Linked DNA regions of Homo sapiens: region 1 is linked to region 2. Evidence: promoter capture Hi-C in human tissues and cell types (Jung and others, 2019). All regions are on one chromosome and are shown on one strand. Each heading gives the region's core, a stretch centred on a gene start or on the middle of the fragment in contact. The rest is flanking DNA. Distances are from core to core; before and after follow the strand shown. Region 1 overlaps NINJ2 (ninjurin 2). Region 2 holds the start of B4GALNT3 (beta-1,4-N-acetyl-galactosaminyltransferase 3).

What was found. The method cuts DNA at HindIII sites, captures the fragments that hold promoters and counts their contacts. A contact is called where the count stands out against the background at its distance.
Region 1: a fragment that was not itself captured here is called in contact with the fragment with the promoter of B4GALNT3 in region 2 in 2 of the 25 tissues and cell types used here (mesenchymal stem cells and thymus).

Annotation. Positions count from the first base shown.
Region 1 is chr12:596,357-601,820 of GRCh38, reverse strand. All of the region lies in intron 1 of NINJ2 (ninjurin 2), which reads left to right. Among named protein-coding and RNA genes, the nearest start is that of NINJ2-AS1, 32 kb to the left of the region's middle. The HindIII fragment of the contact is 6,301 bases long and covers 1-5,215 here.
Region 2 is chr12:457,741-463,484 of GRCh38, reverse strand. B4GALNT3 (beta-1,4-N-acetyl-galactosaminyltransferase 3) reads right to left here and starts at 3,546. Exons shown (of 20, transcript NM_173593.4): 1 at 2,940-3,546. The coding sequence starts at 3,108. RefSeq lists an enhancer at 3,395-4,378. The HindIII fragment of the contact is 8,839 bases long and covers 1-4,899 here.

The DNA of each region.
Region 1 (5,464 bases), core at 816-3,315, 140 kb before region 2:
GATCTTGGTTCACTGCAACCTCCGCCTCCCAGGTTCAAGTGATTCTCCTGCCTCAGCCTCCCGAGTAGCTGGGATTACAGGCACCCGCCACCACACCCAGATAATTTTTTTGTATTTTTAGTAGAGATGGGGTTTTGCCATGTTGGCCAGGCTGGTCTCAAACTCCTGACCTGAGGTGAACCACCTGCCTTGGCCTCCCAAAGTGCTGGGATTACAGGCGTGAGCCACCGCACCTGGCTATTTGTTTTATTTATTTATTTTTTTTTTTTTTTGAGACGGAGTCTTGCTTCTGTGGCCCAGGCTGGAGTGCAGTGGCCTGATCTTGGCTCACTGTAAGCTCCGCCTCCCAGGTTCACACCATTCTCCTGCCTCAGCCTCCCCTGTAGCTGGGACTACAGGCGCCCGCCACCACGCCTGGCTAATTTTTTTTGTATTTTTAGTAGAGACGGGGTTTCACTGTGTTAGCCAGGATGGTCTCGATCTCCTGACTTCCTGATCCGCCCGCCTCAGCCTCCCAAAGTGCTGGGATTACAGGCGTGAGCCACTGCGCCCGGCCTGTTTTATTTTTTTAAAGTTAATTTTTAAAAAGATATATTTTTAAATTCATAGTAAATAATACAAAAAGCAGCTACCTAGTTACATGCATTCTAAATGAGGATGCAAACCCAGTTCATGCATTTATTCCACAAATTCTGAGCATTCACAATGCTCTGCCAGTTCTGCAAATGCAGGAGAGAGCAAATCACAGGGAGGTGAGAACTAAATAGTAAGTCTTCTGGTCAAGGTGGACCTGTTTTCAAAGGACAGAGATCTCCCTACCAAAGGAATTGGGAGTGTTTTAACTATTGAGAGTTCAGATAGATTTCTACATATCTTGTTTTCACCCTTTGAAAACTCAAGATTGATTTTTTTAAATTACATAAATACTAGAACAACCCTAACAAATAGAAAAAAAGAAACTTACAACAATTCTGGGCCAGGCATGGTGGCTCATGCTTGTAATCCCAGCACTTTTGGAGGCCGAGGTGGGAGGATTGCCTGAGCTCGGGAGGTCAAGGTTGCCGTGAGCTATGATGACACCATGCACTCCAGCCTGGGCAGCAGAGGGAGACTGTCTCAAAACACACACACACACACACACACACACACACACACACACACACACACCCCAAAAAAATTCTGCCACCCGCCTTGCCATCCGTCTAATTTCAAACTGTTTCTCCACTCCACCCTTTTTAATTTAATTTTATTATTTATTTATTTTTTGAGATGGAGTCTCCCTCTGTTGCCAGGCTGGAGTGCAGTGGCTCGATCTCAGCTCACTGCAACCTCCGCCTCCCAGGTTCAAGTGATTCTCCCGCCTCAGCCTCCTGAGTAGCTGGGACTACAGGTGTGCATCACCCATGCCCGGCTAACTTTTTTTGTATTTTAGTAGAGATGGGGTTTCACCATGTTGCACAGGCTGGTCTCTAACTCCTGAGCTCAGGCATTCTGCCACCTCGGCCTCCCAAAGTGTTAGGATTACAGGCCTAAGCCACCGCACCTGGCCCCCACCCATTTTGTAAAGCCTCTAGCTCCATTTCCCTCGTTATCTTGACCACCTTTTCCCCTCATAGCCTTGACCACCTTCATTGCATGTCTCCCAGAAGGACTCAGCTGCAAGGACCTCCCAAGATCACTGAGAAATTCAGCCCCGAGGAATTGAAGCTTGGAAGTAGCCAAGACCCCCCAGTGGCTCAGGCGTTCGGAAGGAGTAAAGGAGTAAATGTGAATCTCAGCGCCAATTTGCTTCTGGGCACATTCCTCAGACTCAGAAACCAGGCAGGGGAGGGCTGAGTATCGGGGCCCTGGCAGCTGGGCAGAAGGAGGCGGGCTGGGCCAGAGCTGCTCAAACCTTGGCATCAGAGGTATCCTGAGTGCACGGCTACTCCTGTGCCCGAGACGGGCAATGGGACACTGGCACCATGGTGAATCAGTGGCGGCATCTCGGGGAGGAATGTGAGCCCCCCGGGCGTGCTGGGGTGCAGGTCCAACCAAGCTGAGGAGGAGAGGCAGTAGGCCAAGCGCAGTCGTGGGGCTGGGAGGGCCTCCGCACTTCCAGACTTGCTGGGACTGAGTGGTCCTAATCTCCCAACTCTACTGAGGCAAGTCAGGGTTCAAATTCCAATGAAGCCACGAACATGGGTGGCATCCTGATAAGTCTCTTAACCTCTCTGAGTTGTTTTCTCACCAGTAAATGGGGGGATAATACCCCCTTGTAGGATGTTGCAGAGATCATGTTGTGAGGTCTTACACGCTGCTCAACGTGTGATGGCTTGTGCTGTAGCTAGGACACTCACCCTTTTCTTGGGGGCTATGACCCCCTCAAATGTCTAAGATTTAGCTTCGTCATTCTCATTTCTTATCCACTGACAAATTAACTGGGGCGGGGGGAGGAATACTTTTTTTGAGATGAAGTCTCTGTCTTGTAGTGCGACGGCGCAATCTCGGCTCACTGCAACCTCCGCCTCCCGCGTTCAAGAAATTCTCCTGCCTCAGCCCCGCAAGTAGCTGGGATTACAGGCGCCTGCCACCACACCTGGCTAGTTTTTTGGTATTTTTAGTAGAGACAAGGTTTCTCCATGTTGGCCAAGCTGGTCTCGAACTCCTGACCTCAGGTGATCCATCCGCCTCGGCCTCCCAAAGTGCTGGGATTACAGCCATGATCCACCTCACCCGGCCTGGAATACTTTCCAAATTTGTGCTTTATTTATTTCAATATTTCTCTCTTTTTCGGCTGGTACAAGAAATACATCCTTGTAACAAAAATACAAGCATTGTAGGCTGGGCGCAGTGACTCACGCCTGTAATCCCAGCACTTTGGGAGGCCGAGGCAGGTGGATCACTTGAGCCCAGGAGTTCGAGACCAGCCTGGCCAACATGGTGAAACCCCGTCCTTACCAAAAATATGAAAACTAGCCGGGTGTGGTGGTGCACATCTGTGGTCCCAGGTACTTGGGAAGCTGAGGTGGGAGGATCGCTAGAGCCCAGGAAGTCGGGGCTCCAGTGAGCCGTGATTGTGCCACTGAACTGCAGCCTGGATGACAAAGAAAGATCCTGTCTCAAAAAAAAAGTTAAAATTAAAATATTGTAGAAAATAATATTAAACAGGATTAAAATTTTCCTTAATTCTATCGGCCAAAGATAATTGCTGTTAACAGTTTGGTGTCTATTAGGTGGACCTCAAATGACTCTAATTAGATTGAATTGATGACCATGTTTTAAATGTCTCCCCCCCTTTCTCCTCATTTCTCACAGCCCAAGCTGAGTCACGGGTGAGCTCCTTCGAAAGTGGCCTATGGCCAGGTCCACAGCACTCACACCTTAGACATAGCCCTGTCTGGTAAGATGGGCAAGCTCGGGCAGCCCTCTCCAGTCCTCTCTGGAATTCACTGCCAGTTTCCTCCCTCTGGGCAGAGGGAGGGCAAGGAGGAGGGTGGGGGCGGAATGGAGCTGTGGACACAGCTACCTGCTGAACGTAGATCCGCACTTACCCCCTCGGTGCCCAGGGGGAGGTCAGTGAAAACACCTGTGAAGCAGCCAAGTATGGAAACATCCTTGCGCATACCAGAAACAGGGTGTTGGCAAAGTGCTGTCTGTACATATCTATACACAGACACACACGCATACACACACATTATACACGATTGTGTGAGTGAGCAGTTCTTCCCTTTCCCACCCGTTAACAAGCTCATTTCCTTACAGGAAACTTATCTGCAGATGCTTGTGTTTATATACGAGAGACCAAGCTTTCTCCGCAGGGGACCTCCTACCTACATAAATTAGCCCAGAGCTACAAAGAAAAATCTTACTAGTGATAATAAATGTTCCTTTAAACCAGAAGGGTCCAGCATTATACTAGAGGGCTTCAACAAGGCAAAGGCCTCTGGGCCCTCTGGCCTGTAATAGCCCAGCATTCCCCAAAAGCAACAATGCCCCAGACCCTCCACACCTTCAGTGCAGAGTTGGCTGCACTGCCGAGGTGCAGGCTCCTGCGACACTTCTTGGTGTTCATTGTTAATGGTAACTCCCACTAATACATTCGCCTCTTCTTCAGCTTCTGAGATTCTATCTCCTCCATGAAATGTTCTTGGCCAATGGCAAGAGAAGTGGAAATTTCACTTGGCCCTACTTTGCCTCAAGACGCAATGTCTTCGAGACTTCTTCAATTCATCATATACAAGGAACAGCTCCTTGGTTTTATGTAACATGAATAATATGTGCTGCCCTTACTCTTTGATTTGTCTGACCTATTTTCACTTGTTTGTTCCTTATAATCTTTAAGTCTGTCCATGTCAGACTATGTTCTCCTGTGTCACCATGTTCTTAGTACAACCCTTAGTATCCTGGGTAAACAGTGGAAATCTCAAAAGCCCATCTGTAAGAAAACGTATAATAATAGCAACACTGAGATTTATTGAGTGCCGCACACTCTTACAAGTACTTTACACGCAGTAACCCAGGTAGTGCTCATAGCAACCCTGTCAGGAAGGTGCCATTATCATTTTCATGCTACACATGGGGAGACTGAGGCACAGAAGGGGGAACTGACTTGCACAAGGTCACACAGATGGTGGAACCAGCCATCACCCGGAAACCCACAGCCTACAACTACCAACCACGTAGTGTTTCGCCTTCCATTTTTCCCCTTTGTAGATTAAGGCATTTTGTTTTATTTTAGAAAACTGGGATCATAATTGTACTTAATAGGTGTGTTATTTGGTTTAGGGTATAAATTTGTAATAGTTATGACGTGACTTTTAATTTTAACAAGTTTTTCATGTGACAGAAGCTTAACTTTTTTATGTTTATTTATCTTTTCGACTGTGAATTCTGCCATTTTTTTTTGTTTTTTTTTTGAGACAGGGTCTCACTCTCATCGTCCAGGCTGGAGTGGGATGGTGCAATAATGGCTCACTGCAACCTCGACTTCCTGGGCTCAAGTGATCCTCCCACCTCAGCCTCCTGTAGCTGGGACTACAGGCACACGCCGCCACGCCCGGCTAATTTTTTGTATTTTTGGTAGAGACAGGATTTTGCCATGTCCCCCAGGCTGGTCTCCAACTCCTGGCCTCCAGGGATGCCCCTGCTTCAACCTCCCAAAGTGCTGGGATTATAGGTGTGAGCCACCGCACTCAGCTTGCCACTTTTTTATATTTGGAAAATTCTTCTCCATTGAGTCACTATCTTGTCTTTGGTTTTATTGTTTGTTTGTTTCTTTCTTTTTAAACTTTATTTTTTTAGAGTAAAATTCACAGCGAAATTCATAGCGAAATTGGGAGGAAGGTACAGAAACTCCCCATATGCCTCCTGTCCCTACATACGCACAGCCGCCCCCATTATCAACATCCCCCAGCAGAGGGGTCCATTTGTTGCAGCTAATGAAGCTGCGTTGACACATCATTATCACGCAACATCTATCGTT
Region 2 (5,744 bases), core at 2,297-4,796:
GAGGTATGCGCTAAGTAAATATTTGTGTAAATGAATGCGTGAACAGTCCTAATTCTTTTGTCAATTTTCTATTTGTTAAGGATTTTGGTTGTTTTTCTCTGAAGCCACTCCAGTTGTGGTTGTATCTCCTTCTGCATATGGAACCAAATTGCACATCATCCACATCTTAAACTACTGGGTTATTTCACGAAGATAAAGAAGGAAATATGCTCCCCTGTCATTACTGGTAACCCTGGAGTTTGTGACTGCCATCTCTCCATACTCTTCTTCCAGCACCAGATCCAACACAGGGACAGGCAAATGAAAGGTTCCTGGTAATGGGGGCTGGCCTTCCAGATGACAGGGAGCTGGTGGGTGGTGGAGTGAGTTGGCAGGGATTGCTAGAGAGGGGAGGCAGGGTGGCTTGCTGGAAAGCAGAGCCAACAAGCTGGTTCTGGTTGCTGTGGTTGAGGCCAGAGGTACAGGCCTGGGAGGTGCAGTTTTACTACCCTGGTTCCTGTTGGTATCCAAGAGTGTGGAGGTGGGAATGCTAGCAACCCCCTTCCCACCTCTCCTTTCCTAATGCCTCCTCCCTGGCTCTCCCTCCAGAGGAATAGCTCTGAGCTGAGAATGAAACCTATAGGAAAAGAGGGAACTTTGATGCAAGATGTCTGGGCTTCTTAACAACAAAAAAGGATGGGAGACAAGGAGGCAGAAACCACAGCTCCAGTCTAAATCTTATTCCACAGGGAAATCGAGAGTAGAATATAACGGGACAGCGCAGGACAAAAAGACACCCTGCACAATAGATGAATTTCAGGGTTCTAAGAGGAGAGAGGAAACAAGGTGCATCAGTGTGTGAGCTTAGCCTCCTGTTAAAAACCATGAGTAAGGAAACGAAGTCAATTCTGGCATAGAGGCTGGGAAGAGTTTTCTGGATAATTGGTTTGGAAAAGAAAATAAAAAATAAGGAAACCCAGTCAGAGAGTTAAGATTCTTCTGGGAGGGGAACCCAACAGACTCAAGAATTGATGGCTCGGAATGAGGCGGCCCACGGGAGACAGAGGCAGAGGTCGAGGGCCAGAGTGTCAGATTATGACTGTGGCAAACTAGATCCAGGTTTGGGGAGAAAACACACCGGAGGTAAAAGAAAAGTGAGGAGAGGGAGAAAGGGAGGTTACTGATTCCAAGGTCACAAAGCAACTGCCTTTCTCTCTGTTTTTAATTTGTGCACAAGATCCCACTGGCTAAACAAAATGATGGCTACACTGGGAGGAGGTGTCGCCTCCCAGGCCCCCACCCACACACACTCCAAAGGAGCTCATCCATTTGGGCCTGAGTGGCCATGGCGGGGGAGAATAGATTCACTCTCTGTCTTTCAGAAGGAAGAACAAGGCCCAGAGGAGGGAAGAATTCACTATGGGCGGCAGATTTTGGTCATCAGAGGAAGGGGCTCTGCTGCTTGGAGTCGTGGCCCCGGGGTGGAAGCTATGGCTTCCTGGTGATGTGCTGAGCTCTCTGGCCCTGGAAACGCTTGCGTGCAGATCAGTCTTCGTATCCAGACTGAAAGACACCTTGGAGATCATTTGGACCAAAGGCCTCATTTTCACCTGAGAAGCTGTCGTTTTTCCCTTGATTCCCCCGCTAGTTAGTGGCAGAGCCAGTCTCCTCTAACTCACAGCCGGAATGATTTCCATCACCACAGAAAGGTTAGGCCATAAATATACATTTCCAACCTGAACCAGCTCAGCGACTGTCCCTAGTAATTCTCTCTCTTTGGCCACAAGAGAAGGCACAGCACCACACCCAACTCTGGGTAGAGAAGCTGACACGACGACAGGTCAGAGTCAGAGTATCTTCTCAGCTGCTTGCTCAGCCACTCTGTCCGAGTTTCCCCAAAGCGGGAGGAAAGTGAAGGCATGGGAGGCCACGTGCCAGAACTTTGAACCTCGGCTCCCCGGGCTTGCGTTGGGCACCTGGTAGTAACGGGAGTTTCTCCATTTCTTTTCCCAACTATTACAGGATCTTTTACGGCCCCTGTCACTGTCAGTTTTACTTTGTTAGGCCCATCCACAGTACGTTGAAAACCACCTCGCACAGCCATACCTATTGATGTAAAAAGGCAAAGAGACCACGCTCTCCTGTTTTCCTAGGAGGAAACTGAGGCACGGAAATATTAAGTGGCTTTGGCTAAGTTAAAAACAGAAGTAGGAATCTACCTGCTGCCCGGTCCACTGTGCTGTCCATCATCTCCTTAAACTGGGGAGTTTGGTAGATTTGCTCAGGGTTCAGAAAAGTGGCAGAAGGGGCGGCCCGAACAGGAGAAAGAGGGCGCAGCGAGGAGGTGGGAGATTCAAAGAGCCGAGGACGGAGGCTGGGAGAGGAGCGACGTATGGGAAGCGGGGAAGAGACGGGACTCTCCGAGGTATGGTAAAAAAGAACCCCCCTAGAAGATGCAGCAGGAGAGGAAACGGAGTGAGCCAAACAGAAGGCGGTGGGCAAAGTTTGGGCTGCGCGGACTGGAGCGCGCGCCTGGGTGTGGACGGCCGAGGGCATCCCGCACCCGAATCCCTAGCTCGCGCGTGGACCCCACGGACCTCCTCCCCGGGAACCGCAAGCCCGGAGCGGCTGGAGGGGCCCGGTCTCCGCCAGCGTCTCGGCGGGACGGGCGGGGAGCCTCTCTCCGGGTCGCTCTCCGAGGGGAGACGCGAGGAGCCCCCAGGGTGCCCCGGACCCACGTGGCCGGCGGGCAGGCCCGGGCTCGGGAATTCTGCGCTCGGCCCCGCGGCTTCCCCCGCCCGCAGCTCTCCCCGAGTACGCGCGGGGCGACGCCGGGCACCTGAGGGAGAAATGGGTGGGAAATCGGGTCTGAGGATGGGATGAGAGGCGGGTCCCCCCAACGCAGGAGCCGCCGCCGCCGCCCACCCCCGCGCCCTTCGCCTCCCCTGGGTGCTACTTACTCCGGTTCAGGGGGTTCCCGCCGACCTGGGCCGACGCCACCAGTTCCAGATACAGAGTCCAGAGCCCCACAGACACCACGGCGAGCGCCAGCAGCAGCCGGAAGCGCCTCCGCAGCAGCTTCACCGGGCGCAGGAGCAGCGGGGGCCGCGCGGCCCGGGGGCTCCCCATGGCGCTGCGCCGAGGCGGCCGCCGCCAGCGCGGGCTCCAACCCCCCGAGCCGCCGCCCCCCGGCCGGGCCCCGCGCCCAGGGCGCCCCGCGTCCCGGCCCAGCGTCTCAGGGCTGCGCCGAGGCCGTCTCTCCCGGCCGCTCTCCGGCGGGGCTCGGGCTCATGCTCCGGGCGCGAGGGGTCTCCGGGCTGCGCGGGCGCCCAGCAGGTCTCTCCGGGAGCCGAGCCCGGCTCCTCCTCCGCGCGTGTGTTCCGCGCCGGGCTCTCCTCCCCACGCCTCTCCCGTCGCAGGCTCGCTGCCGCCCTCCCTCCCTGCGCGCCCGCCCTCACTCGCTGCCCAGAAGGAGGCTTCCCCGGCGCCCGCCCGCCTGCCTCCGCCCGCGCCCCCGCCAGCCCCGGACCGGGCTCCGGGCTCTGGGCTCTCCTGCTCGCGGAACCTGGCCCGCCCCCGGCCCCGCCCCCGCCCCCGCCCCGGGCACAGGTGGGCTCCGCCCCCGAGAAGCCAGGGACGCGAAGAGGCCATTCGGCTTCCCTAGGGGAGCGAGAGGTGGGGCCAGAGAACTGGTGCCTGGTGCCTCCCCCGACTGGGAACGGGTGGGATGAGGAGGGGGCGAGTGATGATGCGGACTCTGGGTGACCGAGGGAAACCGAGTCACCACCCAGGCGCCTAACGGTGTGGTTTTAGGCAGAAGCGAAGTAGAGGCTGGTTTGGGCGACGCCCAAGGCTTTAGCCTCAGAGCCTTTCGTCGCCAACAGCAACGACCCGACTCCCTGCTTGACGAAACCAGTAGGCGTGAAATATCACGGGAGCCACTGGACGCTTAACGCAGACATAGCTTCGTTTTCCAGTTGAGATTTGAAGACCTTTCTTCCCAGCCTGAACCACATCTCCGAGAGGCGCTGGGGAAGTCGTACAGCCCCCACGGTGAACCCCAGCAAGCAGTTTTCCCCAGACTGGGCTGGAATGGCTGTTTGAAGAGAGTAGGTGTTTGAGGGTTCCGAAAAAGAATTTTAAAAAGAAAAGAAAAGTATTCACTCTTAGAGTTGAAAAGATCAGCAAGATAAGCCAGGCACAGTGGCTCACGGCTGTCGTCCCAGCACTTTGAGAGGCTGAGGCAAGAGGATCTCTTGATCTCTGGAGGTCAAGGCTGCAGTGAGCCGTGATTGCGTCAGTGCACTCCAGCCTGGGCAACACAGCAAGACCCTGTCTCAAAAAAAAAAAAATCAGTATTCCAGTCCTCTGCCTTCAGGCAGGTAAAGCATTATTATCTGATTTAAATTAGATAAAGTATCAAGGGGCAGAATAACTGCCCCAGGTCACTCAGCAAGTTATACTGCAGTTTTCTTTTCCATTATCTCTTCTGGGAAAAATGGTCAGGAGACTATGGGAAAAGTGAAGGATCAAAGTGTTCCTGGACATTTTAAAATCAAATGAATATCACACAAGTACTGTTCCAAGACAGAGGTTCTCACAGAATTGAGAACTATGTTTCCCTTCTCTCTGTTCTCACCTCAGTTGGATATTCAATAGTTTCTACAGGACTTTTCCTAATTAGCCTCCCCAACTCCAAGCTTCCCATCGCATCCTGTCCACTACCACCAGATGGTCTTCATAAAAAGCCAGGCATGGTGACACACACCTGTAGTCCTAACTTACTCGGGAGGCTGAGGTGGGAGGAGTGTAAGGTTGTAGTGAGCCACAATCATGCCACTGCACTCCAGCCTGGGTGACAGAGCAAGACCTTGTCTCAAAAAAAAAAAAAAAAAAAAAAAAATCCCGTATGTAGTCACACACCTGCTCAAAAATATTTAATGGCTTCCAATGCTTATTGATTAAGATACACACTGTAAATCCAGAATTCAGGGCCTTCCAGAACCTTTTCCAACTTTATGTGACCACATGAAACCTGCTCCAGCTAAAACGAGTTTATTCACTACCCTCCAACACATTTTCTTTTCTAGTTGGTCAACTTGTACCCTTTATCCAAGGTCCATTTCAGATTCTATAAAGCTTTCTTGGACCAGCCAAGTCCTAAGCAACTCCTTCCTTTCTGGAGCTTTAGTAGAACTTGCCATCTGTCTCACCATCTGATATGTTGGAACTTACTTGGAGTGTGTGAGTCTTGTTTTCCCAACCTCACTGTAAGGCTTCAAAAATGGGAGCTGCATTTCCAGTGGGTGGTACAATGTCCACTTAGCACTTAGGAAGGTTTGAGGATGGGGGTAGCACTTTGAGCAAACATCTTCCAGAACTTTCACTGCAGTTCTTTAGCAAAAAGGGTGAATCCAAAGGACAATTCTCTAATTGTAGCCCCTGGGAAAGGTCTCTGTGAAGTTCCAAAGCCACAGATTCCTGTACTTCTCATGTTCTTCTTTCTTTCCACAAGTCCAAGATAGGAGCAGCCAGTGTGTGCACGGCCTGTGCAAGCTCGGCTGAGTCAAGTGGGAAGTGACCGGGCCCTGTAAATAGAGTCCCTCTCTTACTAAGGGCAACCCAACTGGATTTTAGGTTGAGTCACTTTTAACACTTTGTCATGGAAACAGGTGGCAGCCTTGCCACAATTCTCTCCTCAAGACTGAGAAAGCTCATGCAATCACTTCGGTCAACCAAATGCTTGAAGCATCTATTATGTAGGA